3 separate regions of the Homo sapiens genome follow, and all the other regions are linked to region 2. Evidence: promoter capture Hi-C in 16 types of primary human blood cells and fetal thymus (Javierre and others, 2016). All regions are on one chromosome and are shown on one strand. Each heading gives the region's core, a stretch centred on a gene start or on the middle of the fragment in contact. The rest is flanking DNA. Distances are from core to core; before and after follow the strand shown. Region 1 overlaps LEKR1 (leucine, glutamate and lysine rich 1). Region 2 holds the start of LEKR1 (leucine, glutamate and lysine rich 1). Region 3 overlaps LEKR1 (leucine, glutamate and lysine rich 1).

Evidence for each region. Contacts are between HindIII fragments. The CHiCAGO score rates a contact against its expected background, and 5 or more counts as called.
Region 1: a fragment that was not itself captured here is called in contact with the fragment with the promoter of LEKR1 in region 2 in 2 of 17 cell types (non-activated CD4 T cells and total B cells); the score reaches 5.3 in non-activated CD4 T cells.
Region 3: a fragment that was not itself captured here is called in contact with the fragment with the promoter of LEKR1 in region 2 in 2 of 17 cell types (naive B cells and total B cells); the score reaches 10.8 in naive B cells.

What each region holds. Positions count from the first base shown.
Region 1 is chr3:156,958,566-156,962,823 of GRCh38, forward strand. All of the region lies in intron 6 of LEKR1 (leucine, glutamate and lysine rich 1), which reads left to right. Among named protein-coding and RNA genes, the nearest start is that of LINC02029, 120 kb to the right of the region's middle. The HindIII fragment of the contact is 4,848 bases long and covers 542-4,258 here.
Region 2 is chr3:156,823,220-156,827,657 of GRCh38, forward strand. LEKR1 (leucine, glutamate and lysine rich 1) reads left to right here and starts at 3,134. Exons shown (of 13, transcript NM_001004316.3): 1 at 3,134-3,157. RefSeq lists an enhancer at 3,607-3,666 and a silencer at 3,981-4,275. The HindIII fragment of the contact is 11,302 bases long and covers 1-4,438 here.
Region 3 is chr3:156,980,964-156,985,415 of GRCh38, forward strand. All of the region lies in intron 7 of LEKR1 (leucine, glutamate and lysine rich 1), which reads left to right. Among named protein-coding and RNA genes, the nearest start is that of LINC02029, 99 kb to the right of the region's middle. The HindIII fragment of the contact is 5,372 bases long and covers 1-4,452 here.

The DNA of each region.
Region 1 (4,258 bases), core at 1,716-4,215, 140 kb after region 2:
CTGCCTACTGTCTATTAACCTATTCACTAGCTTCTAACCACAATAGATGTTCCCATCTATTGACCTTGGGCTGACCATGTCCTGGAACTGATTTCATTTTTTCAGCAAGTATTTATTGGACATCTCCCACACGCCAGCCAACGGGCCTTCTCTTCACCTTGACTTCTAGTATGCAGGTGTCCTTCAACTCTTCATGGGTCTTCACAAGACTTCTCACCTCCTAGCTTCACACTGGTTTTATATACAGGTACTTTTAACTTTAGTGATTCTCAACAAGGTATTTTTTTTGTCTCCTGTAAATTTCTCTAGTTCCAATTATGTTCCCATTCAAATCGTTTTGTTTGGCTTTACTTTCTCTACCATCTTATGACATTTACTTTCATAATTTTAATGAACTTCAGCCATCTTCTTAATCTGCTTTCTTTTAAATGCATGCCTAACTTTTGTTATTAGCTGACTTATGTCTGTAAGATTTTGTTATCTTGATAAGCACCATTCATAGCTTTTCCAGCTTATTAAAGTCTTCTCAGATATCATGTTAAGCTTTTGAGAAAAGGAAAAACCAATACATTACAGTGAATATCTTCTCCCCAGATAAATCATCAGGTTAATATAATGGACATAGTATTTTAGATTTTCTTTGGGCACATCAAATAAGGGCAGACTGATACACCACTCATCTCTTCTTTCTTTTGTCCTGTTTTTAAGAAAATAATTGTTTGTTTAAAGAATATATTAGAAATCACTTAAATTCACTTTTTGTTATGAACTTTCTAAATGGCTTATTTTAATTAATAATCATAAGTTCAATTCTAAGCATTTGCATTGTTTATATACTCTTTCCTATAAGCCATTTTACCAACTTCTCTGCAGTTGTAGAACTAACTTTAAGTGCTAAGTATCACAATAAGGCTTCTTTTGTGGTACTAATTGAACATCTTCCTTTCTGTGTTCCTGGCCTAATTCTCTGCCCCACCTTCTATCCCACCACTCTGCCTTTTTTTCTTCAGAGAATTCAAACTCTATACTATCCATTTCCCCTGAATATTGCAATCCCTTCATTCATTTCACTTGAATTTCTATACTGTGGCCTTTTATTATCCATGCCTTTAGTTGTTCCTTATTCTTTCTTAGGTTATCTCTCCTAATCAATGAGTTAACATTTTATCCTTTTTTTAACTAACATGAAATATATATTTTATACCTGAATTTGTTAATGTTTGCTGAATATTATGTCACTATTGTGCTTCCTTATATTTTAAAAACTGTTCTAATATTTTATAGTCCCTTATTTCTTACTTTTGAATTCACTTTTAGAATAAACTTTATCTTTCTTCATTTCAAACTATGTAAATATCTCTCTGCTGTACCTTTCATCCCCCCCACCCATGTTCCCTACCAATGTGGTATTAATTGAAAGCATGCTAAGCCAAGAATCAGAACATGATGACCCTTTCACACATTAGGCAGGTGACTCTGACATGCCATTTATCCTTAATGAATATATGTCCACACCTAGGCAATGAATGGATAGAACTAAGACCTTGGAAGGCCCTTTGGGCTCTGATATGCTATGATTCTGGTTCTAACTCTGATGGCATTTTCTTGTTTCCAAAGTTAAATAAATGCTCATATTTTTCACATTTTGTTACTTGTTTCCTTGTAAATCACCACTGAAAAGTTTCAGCTTTGATTCAAGTATATGATTTTTGTTTGGTTGGTTGGTTGGTTTTGTTTTGAGATGGAGTCTCACTCTGTTGCCCAGACTGGAGTGCAGTGGCGCGATCTCGGCTCACTGCAACCTCCACCTCCTGGATTCAAGTGATTCTCGTGCCTCAGCCTCTGGAGTAGCTGGGATTACAGACATGCGCCACCAAGCCTGGCTAATTTTTGTATTTTTAGTAGAGACGGGGTTTCACCATGTTGGCCAGGCTGGTCTCAAACTCCTGACTTCAGGTGATCTGCCCTCCTAGGCCTCTCAAAGTACTGGGATTACAGGCGTGAGCCACCATGCCTGGCCCAAGCATACGGTTTTTATGATCATTACTTTTCTACATGAAAAACTTTTAACTTTGTTTTCCCCACATTTTTTCCCTTTATTTCTGTCTTGAAATAGAGATGCTCAAAAATTTAAATACATGTGTTAATTCTGGTGCATATAGTTTAATAGTGGTTTAGGAGTAAATAATGGGCTATCAATAGCAACCTAACTCTTAATGCCAAAATTTGATTTTTTCATAGAAAAGCCAACATATGAAGTAAAAATTTGAAGACCAAATTTTTTGTTTCCTTTTGAAGATTTATTTACCTAAGTTCTGTAATTTTATGTTTAGCTCACACTAATAACTTCCAAAATGCACAATTTATCTCAATTGATATAATCCTCTCAGAGGTCATTGTGACCCACAGTCAGTCTACTTAAATGATTTTCCTTCCACCTGCTAGAATAAAATGTCCTTTACTTTTTGTCAGCAGTCACAAATATTGGAAGACAGAGTTCAAATAAGTCACTTCAGCATTCAGCTTATTTTTAATATCCTTCCTTAATTTATTTTACCAACTTTCAAATTTATTCCAAGTGAAAAAACTTTTGACTTTTTAATTTTAGTAAGCTGTTCAGTATAGTAAATAACACAAATACTTTAAAAAATGATTTTGCATATAACATTTTAACATCCTAATTGAATCTTTTAAAACAGCTTTACAGAGATAAAATTCACAAATTACAAAATTCACCCACTTTAAGTGTACAATTCAGTGGTTTTTAGGATATTTGCAGAGTTGTGTGACCATCAGCAAAGTCGAATTTTGGGAGATTTCTTTCACACCAAAAAGAAACTTTGTGGCCATCAACAGCCACTCCCCTTACACTCCTGCCCCTTTCCAACAATCCTTAACCTACTTTCTATCTCTATAGACTTACCTATCCTGGACATTTTATACAAATAGAACCATACAATATGCGGTCTTTTGTGTGTGGCGTCTTTCACTTAGGATAATGTTTGTGAGTTTCATCCATGTTGTAGCATATGTAAGTACTGCATTCCTTAATTAGTAGCTTGTTTAGTGCTTGTGATTCAAGTCACAAAATGAGTGATGTGGTTCAGTTGGAAAAAATACTGAGCTGGGATCCAAACAGTTCTGCTTTCTGGTACTGTTTAGGCCTTGTATAGGCCCTTTGAATAAGTTATTAATTTCTATGTCTCAGTTACTTCATCTGTAAATTGGGAATATGGTAGCTTTTCTTACCTACCTTAATACATTAGAATAGGCAAGATAAAATGTAAGATCATCTAAAGAACTATATATTCAAATGTATTTTAAAGTAACTTTCCTGATGTGATAGCAAACCAAATGATTATATTTAGTATACAAGCATTCAAATTTCTTTAAATACTACTTTAATTTCAGAAGAAAGCTATACATTTTAATTTCTCTTTGCCCAAAGGTGTATTCACCTCGACTTGTTTATTTTCTAGTCAGCCCTGATTAGCTGTAACAGTAGTCTGCCTGCTCTTAGAAAAGGTTACTGAAGAAGAGAGTGCCTATGTTTAATTCAGGAGTCATCCGTCTGTATGGCAGATAGAGATCTATGAACACAGATCCACAAGGACCTTACCTGCAAGGTCTGATTTTCAGAGAGCACTCACTGTAGTGACTTGATCAGCCTTTATGATTCCTTTTGAACTGTTGGACTTTAGTTGGAATAATATGACCTTGGCTTCAAATAAAAGGGGAAAGTGCTGATTTTACAAACAGAAAACCAAGGAAGTTTGTAATTATTTTTAGTTGTATTAAATCCAACAGCCCTTAAAAGAGACCAGCTTGATAATGAACCACTGTGGGCTGCTTCTGTGTCCAAAAGTAGATGGACAAAAAGTTTAGCCTGATCTCTAGACAAATTGCAAGCCAGGCAGTATTAACTAAAATTCTAAGAAATCTTTTTTAGAACCTGATCACCATTTGAAATGTGAGTCTTATAAAGGGATCTCCTGTGGAAGCCATGTGATCTTTGATCACTGGAGTCGTCTAAGATTATCTTTGTTTTCTTGCCTTTTCATTTGCTCCCAACATTGAACTTTCATCTAAAGATTACCACTGTTTTATGTATCATCTCCATTTTATTAATGTTTGAATCATAGAGGAATTTTCTATAATGATCATAGGCATCTACTCCTTATAATGGTTGTCATTCATCTGAGACTCCTTTCTCTCCTTTGAGATAGCTGTAATTCTGGTTCATTCTCTAGTCATTTTT
Region 2 (4,438 bases), core at 1,884-4,383:
GCCAGCACGCTGTCGCCTCTCGCTTGGATAGAGTTCCTACATTTTTATCAGAATTGCAGGCAACATACCTCTTCTACATGCTTTTCATGGTGGGGGAGGAGGAAACAAAGGAGGGAGCATAAAACTACTTTTTGAAGTGAAGAACGACATTTCCCTGCTGGATACATATTTTATGTAAATTCACAACAGTAACAAAAGCACAGACACTGTGTCCTCATAAACCAACACAAAGTTCTGCAGACCATGTGGAAAGCCCTAGGTTAGTCGCTTTAGAGCGTCTCTATTCCAAAAACTGAGAGCATTTCCTTCCCCAGGGATCACTGACAATACGGGGTTGGGAGCGGGGAATAAAGGGTCATAAAAAGAAGTTAACAGCAGCTTAATTTGGCTATTACTGGATAATTTTTAAAAGTCGAAGTAAAAAGTGAAAATTAGCTCAATTAAAAACTAATGGGGTAACCCAAAACTTTATTTAATATGCCCAATGATGGGATTATTTTAAATTGTACTTCAATTCTAGTATGGACAGTAATGGGGTGGGAAGACAGAGGGAGGGCAAGTGAGAAACCTGAAAAGGGAGAGACCAAGACAAAACACCAACATAGGGCACAGGATTCGTGGCTTTTTTTTTTTTCTTAAACCTATTTTGTAACATCTTGTCACAACACTTCCTTTGCACTATCTTCTTTCAGGAATAACACTTTTTGCTGCTACGCTTTAAAAAATGTCATTCATCACAACTTAACTCTTATCCTTTGAAATTCTTACTGGGGTCTACTGCTTTCCAACTTTCTTTTTCTTTGTTTTCTTTTTTTAAGAGACAGGGTCGGGCTCTGTCACCTAGACTGGAGTGCAGTGGCCAGATCATAGACTGCAGCCTCAAATTCCTGGGCTCAAGTGATCCTCTCACCTAGGCCTTTCTGAGTAAAGACTACAGGTGTGTGTCACCACACCATGCTAATTTTTTTTTTTTTTATAGTGACAGAGTCTCACTATATTGCCCAGGCCAGTCTCAAACTCCTGGCTTCAAGAGATCCTCCTGCCTCAGCCTGCCAAAGCTCTGGGATTATAGGCATGAACCACCACGCCCAGCCCAACTTTCTATGATAATGAAAATGTTCAGTATCTATGGTGTATCATACATTACCTACATGACTACTGAGTACTTAAAATATGGCTAATGCAATATAGCAATGGAATTTTTAAACATACTTCATTTTAGTGAAATTAGTTACATGAGGCCACCTTACTGGACAGTGCAGGTCTAAGGGAAATTTACAGTGGAAAGGAAATTGGTCTCAAAGGCAATATGCAGACAAATAAACACAGATGAAATTAAACCAAGGAGTGAACTGCAGCCTTTGAGCTGGATTTTCTCCCATCCTTAAAGTGTTGCCTTTCCTTATCCTATAAACAAAGTACTCAATAAAGAAAACTAGCCTCAGAACAGAGTGATCTTGCATTAGGTGTGCAAATTCCTGTCCCAGATAGGTACCAGTTTTGGTGCCCTGTATCTAAACTTCCATTATCACAAAATGAGAGCAGTCCTACCCTCACTATCTCTCAGATAAATATGACGAGGATGAATAGCTCTGAAAGTTATTTGGGCTTCTCATAAGCATGTTATAGTTGACCACTTGGTTGACTGTCCTCTAGGCCTCTTAATCCTTTCTTCTTTGAGGGAGTGGAAACAGAAAATCAAGGGTAGGCATTGGGGCAAAAATATCAGTCAGGTTAAATGTACAAGATACATCTACTAGACTTTTTTTTTTTTTTTTTTTTTTGAGACTGAGTCTTGGTCTGTCGCCCAGGCTGGAGTGCAGTGGCATTATCTCGGCTCAGGGTAAGCTCTGCCTCCCAGGTTCACGCCATTCTCCTGCCTCAGCCTCCCGAGTAGCCCAAGTAGCTGGGACTACAGGCGCCCGCCACCACGCCCGGCTACTTTTTTGTATTTTTAGTAGAGACGGGGTTTCACCGTGTTAGCCAGGATGATCTCGATCTCCTGACCTTGTGATCTGCCCGCCTTGGCCTCCCAAAGTGCTGGAATTACAGGCCCGAGCCACCGCGCCCAGCCACATCTACTAGACTTTTTAGTGCCAAGGAACAAGGCACTAGTGTTCAGTACTTCCTGGTGTCATTAATTAGTAGTTATCAATAAGCAGTTTGGTGTACCGATACTGCTCTGCGTCATTTAATCACTTCTCTAAATCTATAGGTTCAATTAATTTTCTTTGTATTTACTTAATCTTATTTTATTCAATAGCAAACCAGTCTCTTTGCCTGCTACAGAGCCATCGATGTTTTCTTTGGTTCTTGGAAGAACTGTACTTCGACCTTATATAATCCTCAGAAAGGCAAGATCTGGACTACGAATGAGTCACCTGCTAATTACACCAATGGCTGCTCCTGCCTTGACCAGTCACAGAGTATCACCCTATCTCGGTATGCTGCTCTGCTTGTCGCGTAGTAGGTCTATAAATACTTGTTTTATGAATGAATGTATGAACAAAGGGAAGTTAGTCACGTGTAAGGGTGGGTAGCCTGCGATAAATAAAGTGTAGACTAGGAGGTCTCAAAATACTTTTTGAACTAAGCCCTTAATCTTCACTACTTTGGACTAGAATGGAAATGTCACCAACGCCTTCCCAATTAATTTGTCCTGGCTGTAATGACTGAAACCAGAACTTCCCTTTACACCCATGACCTCTACAGGCATCTCTTTTTCCTCTGCTCAAGAACAGTAACTGCTCACTGCTGTGTCTACCACATAGGCCCCAGAGCAAGGGGTGATAGGTAGGGCTATAGGCTCCCGACTCCCGACTCCCGGCAGTGCCTCTCTCCAACCCCCCACGAGGCTGGGACAGCTCCCTCCATCTCAGCAGTCGCTACCAAGCACCCGACCCACTCTCGCCCACCTCATCCCTCGATCCCCTTCCCTCCCTCTCACAGCATTCCGCGTAAGACTAGCCCAGCCTTCCGAGCCCCACCACCAGTTTTCCCACTTCCGCCCGGCGCGTGAGACCCTGGGCGGTGCAGGGGAGCGTTGACGACAGACGTGGGCCGTGACGTCGCCGCGCCCTGACGTCCAGCCGACTGGCGGCGCGGTCGCCCGGGAGACCGGGAAAGCCGTTTCACACCCGTCCTAGTCGAAGTCGAGGTGAGGGACGATGGCTTTCCTCAGCCTGGGATGACCCGGTCCTCCAAATGCAGTTCCGGAGTGGAGGCGTGCTCGCACCCGGGGAGAGAGCCAGAAAGCTGAGCCGCGGCGCCCCAGCGAGAGCACGAGGCCCCGGGTCTGGACTCCGCCACCACGCTCCTCTGCGGCCCCTTCCTGGTGTCTGCCAGCCCGCGGGGCCCAGGCGCGGTCCGCCTTCCTCCCAGCCCCGGGGAACGCGCGGCTCTGCTTCCTCACCCCCGCACCCTCCTCCTCCTCCTCTTCCGGCCACTGCAGGTCCAGGGGGAACGGGGTTAGAAAGGGACAGATTTGAAAGCCATTCCAGCAGTTTTGTCTGGCCTTGCGGTTGGTTTCTGTGTGGAAGAGCCTGCCGCTTCAGGAAAGTCTTAGGATGTGAACTCCCGCCTTCACCTGCCCCTGACCTGCTCGTTGTGGGTGATTCACGCCATGGGAATGGTTCTTTACGTAAGGGCTTGAAAGCTGAACGTGAGTTAATGGCCTGACGTGACACTAGTGTGAGAAACGGAATTGGAAACGAACAAGGACGTGTCTGCATTTTAAAAAATGTCTTTTCGGTGATCTTGTTAGAGAGGAGGTTCACAAACACCCACGTAGCTGCAGCCACTTATCACTGCACCTCTTGCCAAAGTGCGGTCCACATACGTGCAATGAGAAAGGATTAAAGGGACTTGTTTGATAACACACGCAAAACTATGTAAGACTAAATTTAAAAAATTACAGATTTTCCCTGTTGCCAAAAGGGAAAGACCCTTCTTTTTTCTTGAGAAACTTAGTATTTGTGAATGCTTCCTCTATTTAATATGTATGCAAATGTTTTTAAAGACCTAGGAATGCTTTTCTTGAGGACCTGGAAGCCATTTCTTTAAAATGTAAACATCAAGGAAGATAGGGCCCCAGTCTCCTTGTCACTTTGGGAGTTTAACCTAGGTGCGTTATTCCTAATTGTAAACACCTGTTTCGTTATGGAGCTGTGCATTACTTAGGAGGAAAGCCGTTAGCTAACACAGGTGGTTACCCCAATTACCAGATGAATTAAAGAGGAAATATAAAAGAATGTATAGAACACTATGTTAAGCCCTCTTACATGAGGACACGTTACCAGTTTCCTTGAGAATGTGTAATGGATTGTGTCTCCTTGGCTGTATAAAAGAGGGATTTCCTTCTCTCTTTGTAACCTCATTAGCAGATTAGCCGTGATGTGCATCAAAGTCTAGTTGAATGCCTAATAAAATTGTTGTCTTT
Region 3 (4,452 bases), core at 1,285-3,784, 160 kb after region 2:
AAGATGGTCCTATAAGATTATAATACCGTATATTTACTGTACCTTTTCTATGGTCAGATATGTTTAGATATGCAAATACTTACCATTGTGTTACAATTACCTACACTATTCAATACATTAGCATTCTGTATAGGTTTGTAGCCTAGGAACAATAGGCTATATCGTATAGCCTACGTGTGTAGTAGGTTATTCCATCTTGGTTTGTGTACACTCAAGGATGTTCACACAATGACAAAATTGCGTAATGACACATTTCTTGGAATGTACCCCTGTTGTAAAGCAATGAATGACTGTGCATGGAGCCTGCCCATTTAATATTAACACATGCTTTGTGGTATTTTTGTTTATTATAATTTTAACATAACTTGTGCTGAGAAATGGTGAGAGTCAGGGTAGACTGGAGATGCAGGGAGAAATACACCACTAAAGTCCATCAAACTAATTATCTGTAGGAAGTTACTGTATAATTGCAGAAATGCTGATGATGTTTTATCAGTTTATAAAACTAATGTTTCCTACACGTACAAGACCTTCTTAACAATTAAAAAATGGAGATGATGCCCATTTTTAGAAATGCGAATTAGGAAAGATAGAGCCACTTAAATGGCTCCAAGTGCTGGAGACCTTTCTCTATGCTACCTGTCTCTAGCTCTTCCATCTATACTCTATCTACTCTCCTTTACTGCTAGGATTAAGTTGAGGAGTATGGGCATTTAGGATCAAAGCCTGGGACTGCTTAAAGCCTCAGGTTGCTCAGAGGTCAGGAGGTGAGGCTAGAGTCAAATGTGTGGCTTCGCCATTTTTGTAATGATAAGTTTGAAGTCAAAACAGTTCATTCAAAAAATTTGATATATTAATACAATTTGTTAGTAAACTCAAGATTTCCTGTGCACACTCAAACCTCTTTGGACTTCCAGAAATTGGAATATGCTATGAAATCAGGTTTCTTCCATTTTTAATCCTTATTCTTTGTGGGGGCTGGGAATAGGAATGTTTGTCACCTGTAAGTTAATTCTTTGTGTTGTTTAAAGATTTTTAAATATTTGGATATAAGTTTTGTGAATTTTGACAATAAAAGGAAGAAGCAATTTATAAATGGGTGAAACTGGGGTTCTTTTTCCAAGATTTTTAAGAAAATATTTTCCAAGGTTTAAAAGAACGTTGTTATGTATTTAAAAATAGAGATTTTATCAGAATGCTTTGGGCTGCAAGTAACAGAGGTAGGATAATGTCAGTTTTAGTTGATAAGAGTCTCAGCAATATCCCCAAGGATCTTGATGTTCTTTCTGTCTCCATCCTGCTGCCCTCAGCACTGGCTTCAACCCAAAGCTAAGTCAGGTCCCTATAATCGCAAGATGGCTGCAGTTCCTCCACTCTAGAGGCCTCATTTGGATATGGTGCCTGCAGGCAGGAAGGGATGGTTTTCTAGTGTCTTTTTAGAAGTGAGAAAAAAGAATTATCAGATGCCACCAAACAGCATTCTCCTTATATTTCCTTGTCTAGAACCCTTTACATATCCTCTCCTAAGTGAACCACTGGCAAGGGGAACAGGGCTGCTACAATTACCTTAGACCAAGCAAGATTTATCCTTAGAACAAATAATAATTGGAACTCTGATGGGCAGGAAATAAGCTGTAGTGAATGTTCAGAAGGTAACCAGTAGCGTTTGCTAAAGAGGTAGAGCTTTAATGATGCTCTGAGAGCTTGATGAAATTTTCTACAAATTTTATTTTTAAGTACTATAATATCTAGATTAATTAAGGGAACACCTCCCTGAAATAATGAAAAATATGAAGACTATAAAATCTAGTTCTATTGCTTTTAAACATATATGGATATAAAATATACTTTTATTACTTTCATATATATATGAATATGTGTGTGTGTGTGTGTAGATAGATAGATAGATAGATAGATAGATAGATAGATAGATAGATAGATAGATGGAAGAGCTAGAGACAGGTAGCATAGAGAAAGGTCTCCAGCACCTGAAGCCACTTAAGTGGCTCTATCCTTCCTAATTCACATTTCTAAAAATGGGCATTATGCCCATTTTTTAATTTTTAAGAAGGTCTTGTATGTATAGGAAACATCAGTTTTGTAAACTGATAAAACATCATCAGCATTTCTGCAATTATACAGTAACTTCCAGGATAAAGATAGATAAATAAGCCTTAAAAGAAAGACTGTCATTTATGGTGAGAAATTTCTAGGAATTCCTGAAAGGTAATACATAGAAAGGATAGTAGAAAGGGTAAACTCTACTGAGGAATAACCCAGGTGAAGAGCAATTGAGTGGTGATGCTGGTGGGCATGGGATAGACAGGACCTTCCTCGGAATTAATTAAAACACAGAGAAGGGAGTGAGACCTGGTGAATCATTGAAATAGTGGTTGTCACACTCCAATCTACATAAGAATCATGGGTAGCTTGCTAAAATTCTATATTACAGTATGGCCTCTCCCACAGACTCAGCCTCAGGACCAGATTTCTGGGCTCCTTTTCCACAGATAATCTGGTTCTATATTTATGTCTGGGGTGGCTCCAAGCAATCACATTTTTAATGCACTCCCCACATGATACTGATTCAGGTGGTCCAGTGAAACCCACTCTGAGGAATTACATATGGACCATTTAAGCCAGCTGGCCCCTCATCAATACCCTACAATCAGCCCTGTGTGAAGCAGCATTTGCAGAAGCATCTATACTCAGACTAACACAATGAGTATGTGGACTAGAGTCAAACAGCCTGGCAGCTACTGAATCCCAGGAGAGACCAGGGTCCCCACAGCCCAAGACAAACCTCCAGTGCCCCCACCAGGTAGCATACCCTGCCCCTTCATTACACCTCTAAAAACAATCAGGGCAAAAATAAACAGCAAAGCAGACAAGCAAACAGAGGATCTTAAGTCTGAGGATTCAACACAACCAAAGATTACTAGGTATGTGAAGAAACACCTCCCCCCAAGTCCCCCCAAAAAGTGGCTATGAATTCACACAGAAAATCCTTAACACCCTAGAAAATTGTTAAATAGCAAACAGATATTAGAATAAGTATAACTGATATCCCCCAAAGTATGTCCAGGATTGTAACCATAAAAGAACAGACGGTTATGGCAGGCTATTAGGAATTCGGGAGATTAGAAATATCAGAAAAATGATCCCATTCATGCTAAAAATGAATACCAATGCACATACACATGCATATGGATTTAAATACATTGAATAAATGATAGGATTACAAGTTACCTCTAGAAATGAAAGTGTGGGCTGTGTGGAAATTCTTATCTCACTCTATTATATATTGCTTGAATGCTTTACACTTTGGATATATTTATTTTCATGTATGTGATAAGAACAAAATTTACTTAAAATGATTTATAATCTGTCACTAAGAATATGTCTAAGTGATTATGTAAAATATGTTTTCTGGCCGGGCGCAGTGCCTCATGCCTGTAATCTCAACACTTTGGGAGGCTGAGGCGGGTGGATCACCTGAGGTCAGGAGTTCGAGACCAGCCTGACCAATATGGTGAAACCTCGCCTTTACTAAAAATACAAAAATTAGCCAGGCATGGTGGCAGGTGCCTGTGGTCCCAGTTACTCGGGAGGCTGAGACAGGAGAATTGCTTGAACCCGGGAGGCAGAGGTTGCAGTGAGCCAAGATTGCGACACTGCACTCCAGCCTGGGTGACAGAGCGAGACTCGGTCTCAAAAAAAATTTTAAAAAAATGTTTTCTAATTTAAGAACCTCTGTAATGTACTTACACTTTAATTCCTTTTTTTTTCTAAGCAAGCTAACACAGGACTTACATTTTAATTTCATTAACAGTCACCTACTGCTCATTTAACTGATAATTTGAACAATAGTAAACTTTTGACCATCACAAAGTACTAATTTTTAAAGCTCTTACTTGGCCTTTCAACAGCATCTGACAGTTGACCAATCTGTTCTTGGGACAGTCTCTATTATTGAGATATAAATATCAGCGTTCTCCTGATTTTCCTCTCACCTTCCTGTTCATTCATGAAAATTTCTTCCTGGCAAGCAGAAGGTGGCCTGGTGGCATTCCAGTGTCAGTGTACAGATCCATTTTTCACATGGTCCTAACTTGAACAGGCTATGTTTATTTCATTTATTTATTCAATACAAAATGTTTACTGAGAGCCAGGACTATTGTGTGCAGGCACTAGATATTGGAGTAACAAGATTGGCACATTTCCATAGAGTTACTTTTCAGACAATGCTAAGTGCCGCAAAAATATAAAATAGGCATAATAGAATGTGAGTAGTGGAGAGGGGTGGTATACTTTTGACAGAGTGGTCAGAATGGCATCCCTGAGTAGATGATCTTTAAGTTAAGATATGAATAACAGAAAGGAGCTAGCCATGATTACATCTGGGAGGAAGGAGATCAAGACAAGACCCTACGTTTCTTGGAAATCAGTTTT